Regions from separate parts of the Homo sapiens genome. Here regions 1, 2, 3, 4, 6 and 7 are each linked to region 5. The links are contacts of gene promoters, found by promoter capture Hi-C in human tissues and cell types (Jung and others, 2019). All regions are on one chromosome and are shown on one strand. The core of a region is centred on a gene start or on the middle of the fragment in contact, and the rest is flanking DNA. Distances in the headings are between cores, read along the strand shown. Region 1 overlaps DGKB (diacylglycerol kinase beta). Region 2 overlaps DGKB (diacylglycerol kinase beta). Region 3 overlaps LOC107986770 (a long non-coding RNA gene). Region 4 overlaps DGKB (diacylglycerol kinase beta). Region 5 holds the start of ETV1 (ETS variant transcription factor 1). Region 6 overlaps LOC107986770 (a long non-coding RNA gene). Region 7 overlaps LOC107986770 (a long non-coding RNA gene).

Evidence for each region. Contacts are between HindIII fragments. The study calls those that stand out against the background at their distance.
Region 1: a contact is called between a fragment that was not itself captured here and the fragment with the promoter of ETV1 in region 5, in 1 of the 25 tissues and cell types used here (H1 embryonic stem cells).
Region 2: a contact is called between a fragment that was not itself captured here and the fragment with the promoter of ETV1 in region 5, in 3 of the 25 tissues and cell types used here (dorsolateral prefrontal cortex, hippocampus and mesenchymal stem cells).
Region 3: a fragment that was not itself captured here is called in contact with the fragment with the promoter of ETV1 in region 5 in 1 of the 25 tissues and cell types used here (stomach).
Region 4: a contact is called between a fragment that was not itself captured here and the fragment with the promoter of ETV1 in region 5, in 1 of the 25 tissues and cell types used here (mesenchymal stem cells).
Region 6: a fragment that was not itself captured here is called in contact with the fragment with the promoter of ETV1 in region 5 in 1 of the 25 tissues and cell types used here (lymphoblastoid cells).
Region 7: a fragment that was not itself captured here is called in contact with the fragment with the promoter of ETV1 in region 5 in 1 of the 25 tissues and cell types used here (lymphoblastoid cells).

What each region holds. Positions count from the first base shown.
Region 1 is chr7:14,426,231-14,429,123 of GRCh38, forward strand. All of the region lies in intron 21 of DGKB (diacylglycerol kinase beta), which reads right to left. Among named protein-coding and RNA genes, the nearest start is that of ETV1, 440 kb to the left of the region's middle. The HindIII fragment of the contact is 6,067 bases long and covers 1-2,893 here.
Region 2 is chr7:14,469,257-14,472,156 of GRCh38, forward strand. The region is part of intron 21 of DGKB (diacylglycerol kinase beta); the gene reads right to left. Among named protein-coding and RNA genes, the nearest start is that of DGKB, 430 kb to the right of the region's middle. The HindIII fragment of the contact is 7,074 bases long and covers 1-2,900 here.
Region 3 is chr7:13,566,169-13,568,868 of GRCh38, forward strand. The region is part of intron 2 of LOC107986770 (a long non-coding RNA gene); the gene reads left to right. Among named protein-coding and RNA genes, the nearest start is that of ETV1, 420 kb to the right of the region's middle. The HindIII fragment of the contact is 3,843 bases long and covers 1-2,700 here.
Region 4 is chr7:14,405,364-14,408,088 of GRCh38, forward strand. All of the region lies in intron 21 of DGKB (diacylglycerol kinase beta), which reads right to left. Among named protein-coding and RNA genes, the nearest start is that of ETV1, 420 kb to the left of the region's middle. The HindIII fragment of the contact is 5,499 bases long and covers 1-2,725 here.
Region 5 is chr7:13,988,317-13,991,016 of GRCh38, forward strand. It overlaps ETV1 (ETS variant transcription factor 1), which reads right to left and starts at 1,350. Exons shown (of 14, transcript NM_004956.5): 1 at 1,247-1,350; 2 at 952-1,148; 3 at 692-823. The coding sequence starts at 736. The HindIII fragment of the contact is 5,948 bases long and covers 1-2,700 here.
Region 6 is chr7:13,637,234-13,640,151 of GRCh38, forward strand. All of the region lies in intron 2 of LOC107986770 (a long non-coding RNA gene), which reads left to right. Among named protein-coding and RNA genes, the nearest start is that of ETV1, 350 kb to the right of the region's middle. The HindIII fragment of the contact is 3,683 bases long and covers 1-2,918 here.
Region 7 is chr7:13,610,021-13,612,720 of GRCh38, forward strand. All of the region lies in intron 2 of LOC107986770 (a long non-coding RNA gene), which reads left to right. Among named protein-coding and RNA genes, the nearest start is that of ETV1, 380 kb to the right of the region's middle. The HindIII fragment of the contact is 7,071 bases long and covers 1-2,700 here.

The DNA.
Region 1 (2,893 bases), core at 131-2,630, 440 kb after region 5:
GATGCTGGCTCATTGCACTGAAAATTTGCTATTTATGTATAAAGGATAAGATTGGACTTAGAAATCTGTAAATTAAGCTAAGTGATTTAAAGCCATGCAGCGTACATGTGAGACACAAGAATCAAACCCTTAAGCTTTATTTGTGAGGAAGTAGCATTCATGTGTGCTTAGCCTACCAAGGGGGATCAGCAAATGTTTGCTGAATGGATGCATGAATGGATGGAGTGGCTTCATAGCACAATAAAGTCATGTACCACAATAGTTAGGGGGTACAGCTGGAAATAACAAGTCTTTATAAAGTGACCAGACTAAAACAGCTTTAATGCTGTCCCACTGCTACCTATTTGCCTACTGGGATCTGAGTGATTTGTTGAGAATGAAGTATCCTAGGCAACCATGCTAAAATTATGAGTTCAGAAAAGGCGAACTATTTAACAGGCTAGACATACTGATGGAAGCTATTGTGGGGCCTTCAATTTAAAATTTGTTGAATTTGTGTACTTAGTTCCACTGACTCTGTATTATTAAGAAATTCCACTATGGGCCAAGCGTGGCAGCTCATGCCTGTAATCCAAGCACTTTGGGAGGCCAAGGCAGGTGGATCACTTGAGGTCAGGGGTTTGAGACCAGCCTGGCCAACATGAGGAAACCCCATCTCTACTAAAAAAAAAATACAAACATTAGCCAGGCACGGTGGAGTGTGCCTGTAATCCCAGCTACTTAAGAGGCTGAGGCATGAAAATCACCTGAACCCAGGAGACGGAGGTTACAGTGAGCCAAGATAGTGTCACTGCACTCCAGCCTGGGTGACAGAGTGAAACACTCTCAAAAAATACAAGGGGGAACACACACTGGGGCCTGTCAGGGAGTGGGGGGTGGGAGAGCATCAGGATAAATAGCTAATGCATATGGGGCTTAATACCTAGGTAATAGGTTGATAGGAGCAGCAAACCACCATGGCACATGTTTACGTATGTAACAAACCTGTACGTCCTGAACAGGGGCAAAATGCCACCAGTCATTTTGCTAAAATGCAACAAGAGTCACCTATGCTTCACTTCCCAACAAGTTCTTCATCTCCATCAGCCTCAGCCTCAATTTCATTGCCCATATCACTATCAGCAGTTTGGTCAAAGCCATTCAACAAGTCTCTAGGGAGTTCCAAATTGTCTCACATTTTCCTGTCTTCTTCTGAGCCCTCCAAACCGTTCCAACCTCTGCCCAGTTACCCAGTTCCAAAGTTGCTTCCACATTTTTGGGTATCTTTTCAGCAGTGACCCACTCTACTGGTACTAATTTACTGTATTAGTCCATTTTCACGCTGCTGATAGAGACATATCTGAGACAGGGTGATTTACAAAAGAAAGAGTTTTCTTTACAGTTCCACATGGCTGGGGAGGACTCACAATCATGGCAGAAGGTGAAAGGCACATCTCACATGGTGGCAGACAAGAGAAGAGAGCTTGTGCGGGGAAATTCCCGTTTTTAAAACCATCAGATCTTGTGAGACTTATTCACTATCATGAGAACAGCACAGGAAAGAACTGCCCCCATGATTCAGTTACCTCCCACCAGGTCTCTCCCACAACATGTGGGAATTCAAGGTGAGATTTGGGTGGGGACACAACCATACCACAATGTTTTAGAATACATTTGGCCCTATAAAACTGTAGATTCAAGTCTACAATAATTTCTCAAAAGTTTTCTTAAATTATATCTTTCTCTATGTTTTAAATTTTCCTGTTTATACAGTTTGTTTCTACCAGCACATCAATTTTCTATTGATGGTTCATTTATTTTTCAATATTTTCAATATTGAAAATTTTATTGAATATTCAATAAAAAATATTCTGATTCTGGCAATCAGAAATAATAGGCAATTATTTAATGCCTATTGTATGCTAGACAGTGTTCTATACTTTGTTTCATAACTTTTTCTGTGATATATATATATAATTTTCTTTACAATCATCTTCCAATATTCTTTCATTTTGACTCATTTTGCTTACTTTATCAGTTCTGTTCTCTGAGCCCCTTATTACTCTCATCAGTGACTTTTTACTGCTTCTATTTTGACTTTCACTTCTGTAACTGCTTTATATTTACCTTTAACATCTTCCTTAGTCTCTCCTGGTTTGGGTTTTATCTTTGTGTCACTATACATTCTGAGGTATTGAAATACTGATTTGTTGTTTTGCATCGAGGTTGTTTGGGGGTATGAGGAAGTGAGAGGTTCATAAAATAAAACAGTGTGATTTCCTTCTGCTCATACCAATATTTTTCTTGTTGCTTTTCTCAGCCTGCTCCTTCCTCCCTTTCTTTTTCTCTTTTTGTTTTCCCACATTATTGTATAGAGCCTATACTTGTTCATTTTCTTCATTATTGCTCTTAAATGAAGTGAGTACAACAAAAATTGGGACTGTTAAGTGCAGAGTATCAGAGGTTTCCTCTAATTAATGGGAAGTTTCTTAGGATTAAAAATAGGTGCACATGTGATTGTGTAAGTGTGTATGTTTTTGCATTACATTGTATACCCCTCTCCCTTTAATTTTGCCACTCACTGATTCAGCTAATGGCAAGATCTGAGAACAAAAAAACCCATGCTCATTCAGATGCTAGGAAAACAGGCTGAAAAGAGCAGAGAACATTCCCCAAGCCCCTATTTTACTAAGGACTCTTTGTAATATAAAAAATATAAATTTTTTATCTGAACAAATGACCATTTTATATTTCTATATAAAAGTTGGTGGTTTAATAATACAGGACTAGAATAATGTAGATTTTTAATTTTCATAGAAATTAAACTCTGTAGCCAAAGGCCCTCAGAGATTACTAAACACAGAAGGCATATTGAAAACAGAAGATTCTATTTTGACAGAAGGATTAGACATAT
Region 2 (2,900 bases), core at 347-2,846, 480 kb after region 5:
CCTTAGCTGAATGCCCATCAAACAAACAGGGCTCCTTAGTAAATGTTTGCAGACAAAGGAAACAACCAAATCAATAGCAGATAAGCAGTATTTTATCCAAGCTTCAGAAACTTTATTAATATTTTTTGTTACTTCACTGCAGTGGCAAAAATAAAAAATGAACAGGAGAATAAAAAATGTGGTGTGAAAGAAGAAAGAGAGTGAGGGGCAAAAAAGGAAGGGAGAAAAGTTATTCCCTTCTTTATTCATCCTCCAGTCCTCACTCACTCTATTCCAAAGAGCCATCTTACAAACATGATTTTAAACAGCCTGGATACAGAAGTAAGTGTTCTGGTTTTATTAATGGTGCCAAGAAATGATGCAGGAAGCTTCAGGTGAATTGAAACCCCCTGCATGAGAACACACACAGTCCTGACTCATTTAACCATTCTCATTTCTACCTGCTCAGATCCAACAAAGTATTTAAGCAAGTCTCAACATACAAATAAAAATATATGAATCGAGGAGCATAGTAAATTATTTTAAAAGCTTTACATTAGGAATACACACATAGAAGAGCACATATAATTGTAAGAGATTTATATAAATATGATAAAATGAAAACTCTTAGCAAATATATATGTATACAAATATATAAATCGATGCATCACAAATACATATATGTATACACATATATACATCTATATATTTACCTATTTATCTGTACACTATATGGTTTATAGGCAAACCGTAATTTAGTCATATGGAAAAACTGGCCTCATGATAATGCTTACACACACAAATTTCAAAAATTTCATTTAAATGATATAGCAAAGTATTCTAAGTTAGAATGAAAAATGAGTATGTTTCTTCTTTAAAAACACATCAATTCATTCTAGTACACAGAAACTAAAGACATAAAAGTGCTTTAGGACATGAAACTCTCATGAAGATATGATTCTCTTCAAAAGGTCCCTGCACAACACCACTATTTCTAATAAAACTGATTTTATTCAAAACACTAAAAATGACAAACATTTAACTTTTAATTTCAGTAGTCCTGTTTACCTAGTTGGCTAATAAAAGATAGTGACATATACACAAGGTAGAAGTGTGCCTTAAAACATGATAATAATTTACATTTTTAAATGAAAAAAATTCAGTCTACAATAATGAACTTGTCTTGACTGAGGCAAAAGTGAGGTCAAATACCTGAATGATGACATTGTGATATACTTCATCCTTTCTTTACTTTCACTGTTTTTAATAGATTGTGAATGTCAGTAATTTAAAAATCAATTGTACTCCTGAAATAACAGTTTAATTCCTAAAAGTTTAAAGTGAAAGAAAACATGAATTCCTACAAATGTGATTCTACAAAGATACATGTTAAAAGCCTTCAGAGGAAAATAAATACAAATATCTCCTATATTCTATTTGCTATGTCATACCTGACTCAAAAATATATGTAAGATACACATTTAAGAGAATATCTCATGAAATTGATTGGATGCCAATTTTCAATTGGCTTTTTTCATTTGTACATTAAAGATTCTTACAGAAGATCAAGAAAATTATAAATATGAATACATCAACAGAATATATCATCATGATGTAAGACAATTTGAATTGCTCTGGAACTTCAAAAGCATTTTGTTGAATTCACAGAAATAATTTCTCAATGGTACTTTATATGGTAAGTAAAAATATTTGGCTTTGATATAGCATTTTTCTGTCACTACTGAAATATTATATTTTTAACTTCTCATTATATTCTAGAACTTTAATGGAATTTTTATCTCTAGATAACAAATGGCAATTTTGTGTTCTATTACTCTAGTCTGTGGGCTTTTCTTTGTCTCTATAGCAAAATAGAAAAAAAATACACAGGTTTGATTTTTCTATTCTTAGAAATGATAATTTTCCATATATATGGAATATATGTATATATACATATATGTATGGAATATATGTATATATACATATATATGTATGGAATATATGTATACATACATATATGTGTATGGAATATATGTGTATACATACATATATGTATGGAATATATGTGTATACATACATATATGTATGGAATATATGTGTATACATACATATATGTATGGAATATATGTGTATACATACATATATACACACACATATATGTATAAGCATACATATATGTATAAGGAGAGTGATATTTTATATTTAGTCTTCAGTTCAATACCATCAACACATAAAGAATAATAATTTGAAAATTGTATACTGCTGACATATAAATTGATAAGAAGAAGCACAAACTAATCTATAAGTAATCTCATATTATTTATTTGTAGGACACAGTGCTCAGGGATTTATGTTAAAGAATTTTTGTTTGTTTTGCATTGCTGGTTCTTGAAGGTTATGTACGTAAAGGCTGAGAAAACTAAAAGGTATTAATACCTCAAATAATAGTTATGTAGAATGAAGACTCACTCTACATATCACAGTTCAATCTTTATTGCATTTTTTGCACTATAAAAGCATAAACTATAAAGGTAGTAAGATATATAGAAAAATATAGAGAAGATAAATATACCATGAAATAGTAAATAACTTACAGAATAAATACCTATTGAGTACACAGTATGTTCCACAAACTGTGTAGTTACTAAAGCCCAAGAAAGAAAAAGCAGAAAGTAGTACAGAAATAAATCACATACTTCTGACCAGGGGGCTGAGAACCTATCTTTGTTTCATTCCAAAAATTAGAGACCAGATACTTTGAAATAAGCTGCGTGGATTTAAACAGTATTATTGTGATCGCTGGCCATAAGTGCTTACTAGCTAACTTCTTTTAGTTTATTCTAGTAAAATGGTTTTAGGTGTTACACATTAAGAATTTGAATTGAATCACTGAAATCATGCTATGACTAGATTTTTAAGAA
Region 3 (2,700 bases), core at 21-2,520, 420 kb before region 5:
CCTGAGCTCAGGAGGCAGTTTGCAGTGAGCTGAGAGTGCCACTGCACTCCAGCCTGGGCAACAGAGGTGGACTCTGTCTCAAAAAAACAAACAAACAAACAAACAAAACAATAACAAGCATCGAAGCTCCTTTTACTGAATTCTTATTTAATGCATTTATCATATTTTCACTTATGATCTGAAATGTCAGTTTTATATACGTATGTGTGCATGTGAATGTGTGTTTGTATGTATATACAGAGAGACACAGAGTGTGTATACATGTGTGTATATATCTAGATATATATAGAGAGAGAGAGAGGGCAAGGCTGAAAGTCATTTATAGTGTCTCATTATTTTGATGGTCTAAATAATTGTGAATAATTTCCATTGTGATTTCTTCTTTGTTATTGACTTACTAAGAATTGTATGTTTAAATTTCCAAATATTTAGAGTATTTTATTTTACTGATTTATAATTAAATTATGCTGTAATATAGGAATGTCAGCTTTGAAATTTGCTGAGACTTGCTCTATGGACTATTCTGCAGTCAATGCTGGTAAAGTACTCTGTGTTTTAAGAAATATATTCTCCATTTAAGTGCAGGGTTTATATGGGACTTTTGGATTAAGATTAATATTTCCAATATTAAAATCTTTCTTCTTTTGAGTTTAATATATTGAGTAGGAAGAGAGTTGCATTAAATTATATGCTCTGATAGTGAATTTTTCAAATTCTTTTTGTACATTTGTCACTTTTTTATATGATTTGAACCTATGTTATTGGGCACATACCAGTTTAGAATTGTTATATCTTCTCAATGAATTCAAGCTTCCATTAATATATACTAATACCCTTTTGTCATGCTGTTTTAGCTATAAAATATTTTGGTCTAATTGCTACACCAGTAATTGTATTAATATTAGCCTGGCCTTTACTTTTCAACACTTCTTTCAGCCTGCCTATTTTGTAAATTTATGTATTATAAACACAATATGATCAAATATTTGAGACCAAACTGACAATCTTTAAAGTCAATATTTTATTTTAAAAAAAATCATTGTCATTACTTTCTATTATTTCCCCACTTAAATTTTGGTTTTAGTTATTCACATTTATTTTCCTTACTAGATTTTCCCCCCTGTATTAGGTAGAAAGTTCGGCAATCTATTTCTGTGTTCTTACGAATTTCTCTAGAAATTGTAAGGTGGTTGTTTTAATCAAATAAACCTTTACCCTCCTCTAAGGACTTTAATGTAATCTAACGGAATTTTCTGCTTTAGACTGTACTATTTCAAGATTTTTAGATCTCATTTTTAACTGAACAAGATAAACATCTAGTTATGATGTTACAACCAATATTTAAACTTCACAGCTTGTTTAACATTTATTTGCTTAGTATTCCCTCTTCCATCTGATACTTTCTGCACCCATTTTTTCTTGAAATACATCATTGAGAAATTTCTATAACTAAGAATAAGTTGATAATTATTTAGTTTATGTTTGTGTTTTTGAATTTTTCTTAAACATGGTTTTATTTTATATATAATTTTATATTGATACTTTTCTCTAAGGTCTGTGGAGAGAGAGTTCCACTGCCAAATGGTTTCCATTACTGCTATTGAGAAGTATTCTGTAAATTTACTTGTAACTTCTTTCTGGTCATCTCTTTATTCTTTCTTGACACTTCTAAGATTTTTCTCTTTTTTTGTCTTAAAGATTTCTGCAGTTTTACTACAAGGTATCCATGAATGAATTCGTTTGTCTTAATCATCTTGAATATTTTGCATACTGTATCTGTGATATCTTTTGTTAACATCTGGAAAGTATTAATGGTTATTTCTTCAAATAGTCTACTGTCTTTCCCCCTCCATTGACTCTACTATCTCCTCCGGAATGATGACGATGAATATGTTAGTCCTTCTCGTTCTTAATTTCACTTTGGTTATGTCCCAACACATTGTAAGTCTTGATTTTCTTTTCAGCTGTCTGATCTGCAGCTGATCTTATTTTAAGACTTTTTTCAGTTATTAAATAACTGCTATAAAAATTGCATTTTCTATTCTAAAAGTTTGAAGCCATTCCACTTCAAATCTACCTGGTCATTTTATATATTGCCATTTTTTGTTCATTTTTGTGACTCCATCTTATATTTTAAAATATTTATTTATTTATTTATTTATTTATTTATTTATTTTAGAGATGGGGTCTTGCTTTGTTGCCCAGGTTGGTCTCAGAATACTGGGCTCAAGGGAGCCTCCTGCCTCAGCCTCCTGAGCAGTGGGGACTTCAGGCATGCGCCACTAAGCTCAGCTTCTACTTAGACATTATTTTTTCTATTATGTGTTAATTTCAGCATATGAAATCTTTAAGGGTATAACTACCATATCCTTACTGTGTGTTTGCTAATTTTTTAAATAAGCTTTATTTTTTAGAGCAGTTTTAGGTTCATAGCAAAATTGAGCAGAAGTACTGAGAATTCCCATACTCCCTCTGCCCCATACAAATGCATAGCCTCCCTCATTATCAACATCCCCCACCTGAGTGGTACCTTTGTTACAACTGATGAACCTACACTGACACACGATTATCATCAAAAGTTCATAATTTACATTAGGGTTCAAGCTCAGCGTTGTAAATTCTACAGGTTTAGACGAATGTTTAATTACATGTTATAAATAGCATCATACAGAGTATTTTGACTGCCCCCAAATCCTCTGT
Region 4 (2,725 bases), core at 129-2,628, 420 kb after region 5:
TGACTTCTGAAATAATTCATGACAAGCTACTTAATCTCTATAAATGTCAGTTCCCTCAACTGTTAAATTTGGATAATAATAGCCATTATGAAATCAGCTTGTAGTAAGAATTAAATGAGATAGGCTTCTTAAAGGATATAATCAGATTTTATGCATTCATTTTTTCTTTTACTCATTTAAGAAATCTGTATAATGAATCTAACATGTTTCATTCTAGGTGTTGAGGATGCAGAAACAATCAAGACAGACAAGGTTCTAGCCACCCTTGAGCTATAACCAAGTTGGAGAAAAAAGTCAGCATGCAAGTAAACAATAATCATTCAAGCTATATAGGTTGTGCCTCATGAAACAAAAGGACTTTGTATGTGAGAGAGTAATGGAAACCAGGCACAGCTTTTAAGAGATGATGTCTAGAATGGGACCTAAAGAAGAAGGAGCTCTCCATGCAAAAATATAAGAAAAGCCCATTCTAAGCGAGAGACATCAGGAAGGACAAAGGAACCGAGGCAGGAAAGAGTTTGGTGTCTTTTAGGAATAGATGAGAATCCAATCTTGGGCTAATGAAGCAACACAAGATTCGCAACAGCAGGGAGTTGCTACTATCTTTAGCTTGAAGGAGAAAAAGGAGGAGGTTGTATTACCAGAGCCCAGGGGTGGAGTGACCCAGCATAACATAGAATCTTAGTTGGTATATTCAAGAGAAGTTGGATCCAAAGAAGAGATACAGCCATTATTAGAGATGCTGCCCCAGAGGGAGAAGGAGAGATACCTTGAAAATTTCCCTTAATCCCTCCATTCGTTATATCACCAATGACTTCCAGTGACTGAACCAAATCAGATGCCAGATGACACAATAGCCTAGCAAATGCAGTCTAAGAATTCAATCTCCAACACACCCAGTAGAAAGAGCAAAGGGTAAGAAATTGACTTGAGAGCAAGTTGGCTCAGAACAGTAGACCCTTAAATTCATTAAGGGTCAACTACTTTAATACTTTGGGAAAATAATCCCACTATGCAGGGAAAGAGGATGAATTTTAAAATGTCATATTTTAGGTATATAAAGAAAAATCCTGCCTGACCCTGATATAAAGAAATGAAGATATTAGAAAAAAGTGTTGGCTCTACATGTCCAGGTACTACTGATCACGACAGCACTTACAGGCTCTAAATGGTTAACTTCCTGAAAAGTGGCTGTTATATGGAAAACCATAAAACAATCATTGGTGATCCTTGTTTCTATTTAAAAAAACATGCTCTTAGGTTCAAGTAGACTGACCCACTTTAGGACTATCTATCCCTAGGGATCTTGTAAAATGCAGAGAATGAGAAAAACCTTTAGAAGATGCTAAACTCTCCGCTTTTAAGCTAACTAGCATGTTGAACAATTTATTTGTACAATATGAGATATGACCATATTGCATCTCATCTTATGGAATTACTCAAGTTATATACAATTTTCTCAAGTGCTATTGCTAGTCTGGATGTAGGAGTGAAGAGAATAAATTGAGGGCTTGATCTATGTTTGGGGTTTTCAGAGAAGACATAGAAATGAAAGAAGAACAGATTGGTTGAGAATATAATCAAGTGATTATGGGTTCTGTATTGAGCAGATAATTTAGTCCAAGAAGATGCTTATAGTTATGAAAGAAAATTCAGGATCAAGTACATGAGGTCTATAGAAGGTCAAACAGTAGTTAAGAAGGAGTGAAGAAGTGTGAGAGCTAAAGGATGTAAAGTAGAAGTCAGAAAGTGAGGGCAATGAGGCATTCTAGTGCATGAATGTGACAGGGAGCAGCTGAAGAGAATGGAAGTGATAGTTCTAGTTCAACGGTTCCAGGAACTGCCATGTTAGGGAGTTAGAAAGTTGCCCACATGGATTTGAAATTTGTCCTTAATTTATTCATCAAATGTAGTTAGTGCTATTATGTCTATTGTTCAACGTTGCTGAGTAACAAACAACCTCAAAAATCCTATCGGCTTCCAATAACATTGTGTCTCGTGCTTATCAGACTGTGGTTTGACTATTTTCAGTTGATCTAGGCTGGACCATGTTGCTCCACGGTGTGAGACTGGAGAACTTTGCTCCAGGATTTCAGTCTTTTCTATGTGTGTTTATTTTAGAGGGCAGGCTGATGGAGAAGAAGCTACCTGGGTATGCTCTTCTTATTGAGAGTGACAGTACAGGAGGCAAAAGCCTAACCACACAAGCAAATTAAAACCTCAACTCACTTCATAGCTGCTAAAATTTCGTTGGCCAAAACAATTCATGTTTTATTAAAATAAACTGAAAACTGAAATTAATAAGAGGTTTTTCTTTTCTAATGAGTTGTATTATAAAATCATACGGCAAAATCTTTGGTTAAGACAGAGTAAATATTTCAAATGAAGATGCAATAAGAATGAAGACAAATGCTGTAAATCATGTGCTTCAGTGGACTTTGAGACTCTTGGCAAGTGAATGGAAGTCAACAGAGATCAGCAACAAGAGAGATAGAATAGACAGAACTAGGGACTAATGTTCAAAAAAAACCATGATCCTCTCCATGCCCCTACACAGAAGACCTTAGAAGAATAACAGTCTGGATAGGGCATAAGGCAGTGAAAAACAGAAACTACCCTCCCCCAATCCTCACAAACCATAAATAGCAGGTTGTGGGGGCATACTGATAATTACTAGTCATTAGAAGCTAACTGTGGAACACACACTGTAAGAAGACAAAACATA
Region 5 (2,700 bases), core at 100-2,599:
ATCAACTCTAATATTCATTTTCTCACTTATTTGACAGTGAAAGCTTATGTTAAGCAGGCAGGGAGAGTTGCTTCCCAGTGCCGATCTTAGCACATTACTATTTATCAATCATATATTCATGGTATCTCAGCATCAAAACAACCTGAAGCATTTACACTTAAAGTTGTTTTTAGGCTGGTTCAATGCTAGATTAAAACAGTGGGTTTTATTCTCTCTTGGACAGCCCCTCCTCCCCACCCCACCCCCACAAAAAAAAAAAGCAAAAAGAGTAGAGAAATGAAAAAAAAAAAAAAGAGAAAATGAGAAAAAAAAAAGAAACAAAAACACCCCATATAAACAAAAAGTGTCAGCATTTGTCTCAACTTCATTCTTTTCAATGTGGCAGACAAACCCAGCCAAAAACTTTGAGTGCAGCAGCTGCTGCTGCCCTCCATCTCCTCTTCCACTCATGTTGGGCACTTTAATCAGAAAAAGGGGTCTTAAAAACAAAACTATGCCTTATCCAAATCACTGAAAGGTAAGCTCATTTTGAAGACTGGGCTTCTAGAAGCAGAGTCGCCCTACAGTGGCAACAAAGCAGATAAGTATCTGCAATCCCAACCCCCGTGCCCCCTCCCTTCTCATTTTCTCCCTCTCCCCACCCCCGACGGAGTCAAGTTTATAAACAGCAACTTTCAAACTGATCACTCACATTGGTGACCATGTAAGGCACTTGCTGGTCATAAAATCCATCCATGCTGCTGCTCTTCGCAAATCTCAGCTCAGTATTTTATATTTTGAGCATTTAGCTGGAGATTTCCTCAGGATCTGGACTTCTATCAACCTAGAGGGGAACAAGATGGCTTTTAGGCTTAAAAAAAAATCATGAATGAAGCTCTTGAATTTGCATAGCTAATTACCCTCCGACAGTCCCATTCACAAAAATAACCCTCCCTACACCGCCTCCTTCACCTGGATCCAAAGAGAGCCAACAGAGTTCACAATTTACATATTTTCGGTAGTAGCAAAAATCCGAACAAGAGGCGATGTATTTATTTACACTCTCGATGTTTCCCTGCGCGGTCGGTGTACCCCGGGCAGCTCTGATTCGCAAACGTGTGCAAAACTAGCAATGGCGATCAACGAGACTTGCTTTGCACCTAACGGGACTAAAGAGACGGAGACACCTCTTTCATCAGGATAGTTTTTGCGACCCACAACCATGCAATTATCTGGAGAGACATAAAAAGTTGTTGGAAAGACCCACCTGAAGGCCACGCTAGGCGAAAGGCTGCAAAAACTTCCCTCCAAATTTAATAAAAACATTAATTATAGCCCAGCACTTCCCCCTTGGAAGCCGAAAGCGCCTCTGACAGAGCTCAATTCGGTGGTTTTTCCTCTACTTCTCCTCCAGGGGCCTCCAATCCAAACTGATGGATCGCTGCCTCCCATTGGCTCCGCGTCTCTTTCACAAGATCAGATTTCGGGCTGTCAATCAGGCGGCTTGCTGCCCCTTCCCGCGGGTCTCCCTCGCCCCTCTGCCCTAGGGGGTGCTCGGCCGGTAGGCGCTGGGTCCTCAGCCTGGAAGCGCCACGGAGAGACTCGATTTCCTCTGTAACCCGCTGCTTATTGTTAAGGCGCCTGGGGATACTGAAACCGTGTGTTTCGAGTCGCCAGTTCCCATTATTGGGGTGTTAGGTCCACTATTGGGCTGGTTTCCTTAAAGTACTGTTGTGCGGTTCTGGTATACCCTTAGAGCCGCGATCCACAAAGCCCGTACCGCCTTATTCAGCTGCCCTCCCCTCAGGATCTCCAACCTCTCTACTCTTGCCCTGACTAGGAGCTCACCTCGCTCTCTATCCTCATTCCCACTCAGCTTTTGGCCCAATTTATTTTCCCGTTTTTCAAAACCCACCATCACCATTATGGTTTATCGAAACATTTTTTAAACAGTCATCCTCAACTAAAATTAGATCCTATCGTTCGTGGGACAGAAACATAAAGAATCTATAAGGAAGGCACCTAGGAGATGCAGAATTGCTGATTAGCAGAGGTTGTGATGGGAGGACAACAGAGCAAGCTAGGTGAAAAAGTATAAGTCAAAATGGTCCCTACGTGTGCACTGGGAAAAGGTACTTCCAGTCCACTGTGGCTGTGGGGAGGAGGAGGGAGTGCTTGGGGTTGCTCGTATATCCTAGAACCCGCACGTTTCCTGAGCTTTTGTTATGTATACACGGAGGCGGAGGGTGTCACTTACTGTACTTGACGCTTTCACTTCCTCTCCAGCTTTTAAACAGCCAGAGCCCAGGGTTGGGGGCGAGCGGTGAGATGGCTCGGGTTTCAAGGACAATAACTAGGACGTTAAGCAGTGAGGGCTGCATCTCTGAAGCCACTTGCCCTGATCCTCCTATGGGACTCAGAACAGTAAAGCGTCACTTTAAGGAGCCAGTGTCCAACAGCGGACGGGAGGCCGCGGGGATAGGACCAGGGACTCAATGCTGTTGAAATTCATTTGTGACCAGAACTAGTGACCAAAAGACGTTTCCGGCAGCTGTTCCGCCCGTTAGGAAACGTGCTGCAGTTCTCAATTTCTATTTGAAAGTTTCCTTCCTTAAATAGAACGTTATGGAGACACATTAAAATGGAGTGTAAGAGCGCACAGCACTCAACCCCGGACCTGGGCAGGAGAAAGATCTACTTAAAAAAGAAGCAAACAAACAA
Region 6 (2,918 bases), core at 89-2,588, 350 kb before region 5:
AGCTTTCAATAAGGCACTTATTCCTTGATGACAATGTTGTGGGTTTTTAAAATATAATTGACAGCTCACACCCCATCAACTACTGCTATTAAACTGTATAATACAGCTCAGCTATCCACAAGAAACAAATAAAAACAAAAAAAACTCACACCCCATCAACTACTGCTATTAAACTGTATAATACAGCTCAGCTATCCACAAGAAACAAATAAAAACAAAAAAAACTATCAACGAATTATAATGCTGCCTGGAAAACATGAGAAAATGCACTCATCAATCCTACTTCATACTCCCCATCCAGTCCCACACATAAACAAACAACTGCTTAGCTATCTAGTTAAAGTCTCTTAGGGGCCTAACAATGTGTCAAATGTCACATGCTTTTACCTGGGACATCAAAGCATTTATTACAGTGATCAACAAATTATAGTCCATGGGCCAATACAGACTATTGACTGTTTTTGTAGATAAAGTTTTATTGGAACACAACTACATCAATTTTGTTACATATTATCCATCTTTAGTTTTGCAATGAAAGAAAGTGCAAGGTCCTCAAAGCTGAAAATATTTTCTATCTGGAAATTAACAAAAAGAGCTTGCCCATCTCTATTCTATAAAGAACTTTGAAGGCATGATTAGGGTACATAGATAATAATTCTCAAACAATGTAGGCAGGACATTAATGTGTATAAAGTGCCAGTTATGTGCTAGGCATTGCGTTTGGCATTTTCACAAAATCATAACGTTTAAATGAAGTATTTTAAATACCGTTCGACGTAATTAAAGTGGTACAGAGTGCGTATTTCTAGTAAATACTTATGTTGGGATTTGAAATAACTTCCCTCAACAAATAATGAACAGTTTGCCAAAAGCAGAGTCTAAGCAAGGGCAAAGAAAGAGGAGGCTTTGGAGACTAGAATGATGTTATTCTGAGCAACTTTCTAGGGCAGCTCCGTGAAGTTGAAAGAACACTATCTTCCAGAGATAGGAAAATCTTTATGTCTCAGTGGAGAGTCTCAACTGTTGTGGTCTTCGGGGTGCTAATGTTACATTTGGTTTGTCAACAGCAGATAATGAATTGGCATTGGAGCAGGTCAACAAGGGACCGCAGATCATCAGATAGGTGGGAAAAAAGGAGGTGGTAACAAAACATGTTTGTTTTTCTTATAATAACATGATATAATTCATCCCAAATACTGGGAACAAAGGAGGTAATCAGATTGGGTCATTGAAGACAGCAGGCCAAGGAAACTGTTAGCCTCTCTCCTTTCTCCACCCTTACCAAAAATATCTGATTCCTTCTTGATTCTGCTTTGTTCTTTAATTGCCACATCAAGTCACTTAGTAGATACTGACTTTTCTACTGCTAAATTTCTTCTTCGTATTACCCTTGCCTTTTCCTGTCTTCATAATTTCCTACCTATGTGGATGCATTTTTAAATTTATTCATTCAATATTTATTAACCACCTACCTCTTGCTAGAACCCATGCTCATCATGGGAGAAACACCCTGGTAAAAAAGGGAGACCATCTCTTCCCCATGTTTATGTGTTGTGGTTAGTAATGTCAAGTGTTTAAGCGACGGTGAGTACAATGGCAAGGAAGAGCCAAGTTTTAGAAGGCCCCAAAAGAGAAATTTATTCTTAACTTAGGATACTGGACTTCCTGAAAGAAGAGTTTTAAACTAAAATCAATAGAGTGAGAATGAGTTAGCCAGAGCAAATGAAAATACTTGGATGTAAAAACATAAAAAAGACCAACGAACTGAAAATTCTTTTATAATATATGTCAGAATGAAACACTTAAAAACGAAGCACTTATAAGAAAAAGATGATAATCTTTTTACTAAGAATGTGTATGTGTGATTTTATTTATATGACATACATGTATATGTATATATACACATATATGATTATAGCCATTTACTTCTTTAGAAATACATTTATTTAGAACATATAGTTCTAAATATGCAGAAAGATTTATAAACTATAGATACAAAATATTATATACATATGTATTTCTCAAGAATCAGACAACCATCTGCTCTTTAATGTAGCTGTGATATTTCCTTATATCTAGAAATAATGCAAATTATCCCCTTTCGGGGACAATTCAGAACCTTATGGAAAATAAACAGGGTAACTATGACAGAGTCCTTCCTGTGTTTGCTGACGAGTAAGAGAGCAGCACCATATGCTTTCATGTACATTACCCCAGGAGGGCAGTGCCATATGTTGACACGTATGTCACCTGTCTTGGTCTTTTGTATAAGGCAGTGTCCCAAGGGGTATGCCAAATAGGGAAAGAGAAGGCAGCCACATGAGTATGAGGATGTGGCATGTTTCCCTTGTTGACAGATTTTGCTAGACCATCACTTCAGTTGGCAAGCACCCAGAACAGCTGCTTTACCCTGGAGCAAAGGTCTTTGTGATCCCACAAACGCTCCCCAGTGAGTGAGACAGTGGAGGGAAGGTGTTGTGCCCTTTGGGAGTGGACTTTTCCTCCTACTGTGAGATGTGAAAAAGGGAGTAATTACCATGAAAGACTTTTCACGGATTTTGTACTAACTCTCACCTTTGCCAGTAAGTTCCGAGAAAATGGGTGAGCATCTATTTATACATAATTGAAATCCTTCATATTAAAAACAGAGAGACCAATATAATAATGTAAAAGACTTTGTTGATCAAAATTTGCTTCATTATGATTTAGTGATTTCATTCACATGTTATTTAAAGATCAGTGTTGATTTCTCACCTCTTAGGTATCTTTCAAGGCTGTACATACATAATACTTCAGGCCATAATTCCATTCTATCATCTCAGAAGTGGCAAAATGAGAAAAAAGTTTTCACAAACTCATTCACAAAGTAATTCAAATATATTTAAAGTAATAAAATACTATCTATGTTTATATTTACA
Region 7 (2,700 bases), core at 191-2,690, 380 kb before region 5:
TAGCATTAAAATTTTTGAATCCCTCAGAATCAATAAGTTCACAAAAATTACACACCTCATTAAATTCTACACAGATTGCAAAGCTAGCTATAATGTAAAAACAGGCAGACAGTCTGTCTCAATATTATTACAGGAAGGGTTGGTTAAATTAATAGCTTCTCATTGATTAAAAAATCTTGCATTTTACATGTTCTTAAGTTGGTTCCCACCATTATCTTTCAATAATAGAATGAGTCTTTGGAGAAATGTGGTTATATTGAACTATTAAAATACAAAGGTAGGCAAAAGATGTTTACAATATGCTATCATTGTTTCCTGTCATAAAATGCTAACTACGTGAAAAGAAAATATGTTTGCTTCCTATATTCTTAGTGATTTTTTATGCTTAAAATCTCCTACTGTTAAAAGTATAATTAGTCTATAATGTTAAGTAAGCATAAAACAGTATTACTGCATCATAATTTTCCTAGGCAAGACATCATTTTGTTCAGGTAATACAGTATCTGACATTGCATGTGACAATGCCACTGAAACCTTGTCCATTTGTACTCACTGTGAATTAGGAAATGCTCTCTTATTGGACTACCAGTCATCTGCATTTTGCATATATTCATTTATCTCATTTCCACTTTTGCTCATTTAATAAAACATGGTAATCACATGACTCACCTAGAAAGATTTTATTATAAATGTAGATTCTTATTCAACTTACATGTTTATTTCTGTTCTGTAGAAGTCTACATTTTTTTTTTTTCTGAGACAGAGTCTTGCTGTGTCACCCAGGCTGGGGTGCAGTGGCATGATCTCAGCTCACTGCAACCTCTGTCTCCCGGGTTCAAGCAATACTCCTGCCTCAGCCTCATGAGTAGCTGGGATTGCAGGTGCCCACCACAACAACCGGGTAATTTTTATATTTTTAGTAGAGACAGGGTTTCACCATGTTGGCCAGGCTGGTCTCAAACTCCTGACCTTGTGATCTGCCCGCCTCAGCCTCCCAAAGTGCTGGGATTACAGGTATGAGCCACTGTGCCCAGCCAAGTCTACATTTTTTAATACATATAATCCTTTATTAATTCAGTCTCCTTCTTCTCTTAAAGGTTAACAGTAGGTAATTTACCTTTCTTATTGTCAAGTTTACTGAAACACATATATTTATGATGTATTACTAAGTTCATTTAAATTTCAGAAGATTTATTCAATCAAAATTCAGTTGATGATATTATTATTGACAGTATTGGTCTTGTTAGTTATTCCCTTTCACTAATATCTTCAGTTAAATATGTTGCCATGTCAAAATTAATTTACTGACACTGAAGCAGCATTAAATTGCACTTTTTTTTTTTTTTGAGATGGAGTTTCACTCTTGTTGCCCAGGCTGGAGTGCAGTGGTACAATCTCCGCTCACCTCAAACTCCACCTCCTGGGTTCAAGCGATTCTCTTGCCTCAGCCTCTCTAGTAGCTGGGATTACAGGCATGTGCCACCATGCCCAGCTAATTTTGTATTTTTAGTAAAGATGGGGTTTCTCCATGTTGGTCATGCTGGTCTCGAATTCCCGACCTCAGGTGATTCGCCCACCTCAGCCTCCCAAAGTACTGGGATTACAGGTGTGAGGCACCACACCTGGCCTAAATTGCACTTTTATTTGATCATACTATATATACATATTAAATACCCTTTAAATATATATTATAAATTAATGTATTATACAACTGATATGTTAATGTAAGATTATATGAATATAACTTTTTTTTTTTTTTTTTGAGATAGAGCCTCGCTCTGTCACCGAGGCTGGAGTGCAGTGGCGCGATCTCGGCTCACTGCAAGCTCTGCCTCCCGGGTTCATGCCATTCTCCTGCCTCAGCCTCCTGAGTAGCTGGGACTACAGGCGCCTGCCACCTCGCCTGGCTAATTTTTTGTATTTTTAGTAGAGATGGGATTTCACTGTGTTAGCCAGAATGGTCACGATCTTCTGACCTTGTGATCCACCCACCTCAGCCTCCCAAAAGTGCTGGGATTACAGGCGTAAGCCACCTCGCCCCGCAGTATAACGTTATTTATGTGTTACATCATGATATATTATATATTTTTTATATATGTGTATATACATATATTAAAACACTTATTTAGGGTAATTGAAAACGCAGTCTCTTAAGTTGAGATACATTTCAGCTAAAAACAATCTATTCCTTAGTTATTAAATAATAAAATTCAGTTATGAAAGATATATATATTAAATATATTTGTGCAAAGTTATGAAATGATACACTATATTTCAGTATAATTAGAAACATTTACATAAGCAAAGTCATTAAATAGAGAAGATTTAGGTAGATTAAGATTAGCTTTCTTATTCCTATTTGTAATTATGCTATACATTTGAAAAACGCATTTTAGAAACTGTAATCTTAAAAACTATAGAATTATAAAAACTGTAATTAGATCTCAAAAAATCATCTTCTTAATGTGGACATATTTATCCATAACCAGATGTTAACGTATTAAGTTTTCACATTTCTTGAATATGGAAAAAATCTATATCATCCCCTTTTTTAAGCTAAAGGAAAAAATAATGTGTTGTATGTAAAGATGTTCTATGATCTTTGACACCACTGCTTTAGTGAGGTCATTTCTCATCTACTGTGGTGTTATTGAGTTTCATGTTTTGGATTGAATAACGTCCACTCAAATTTATATAATA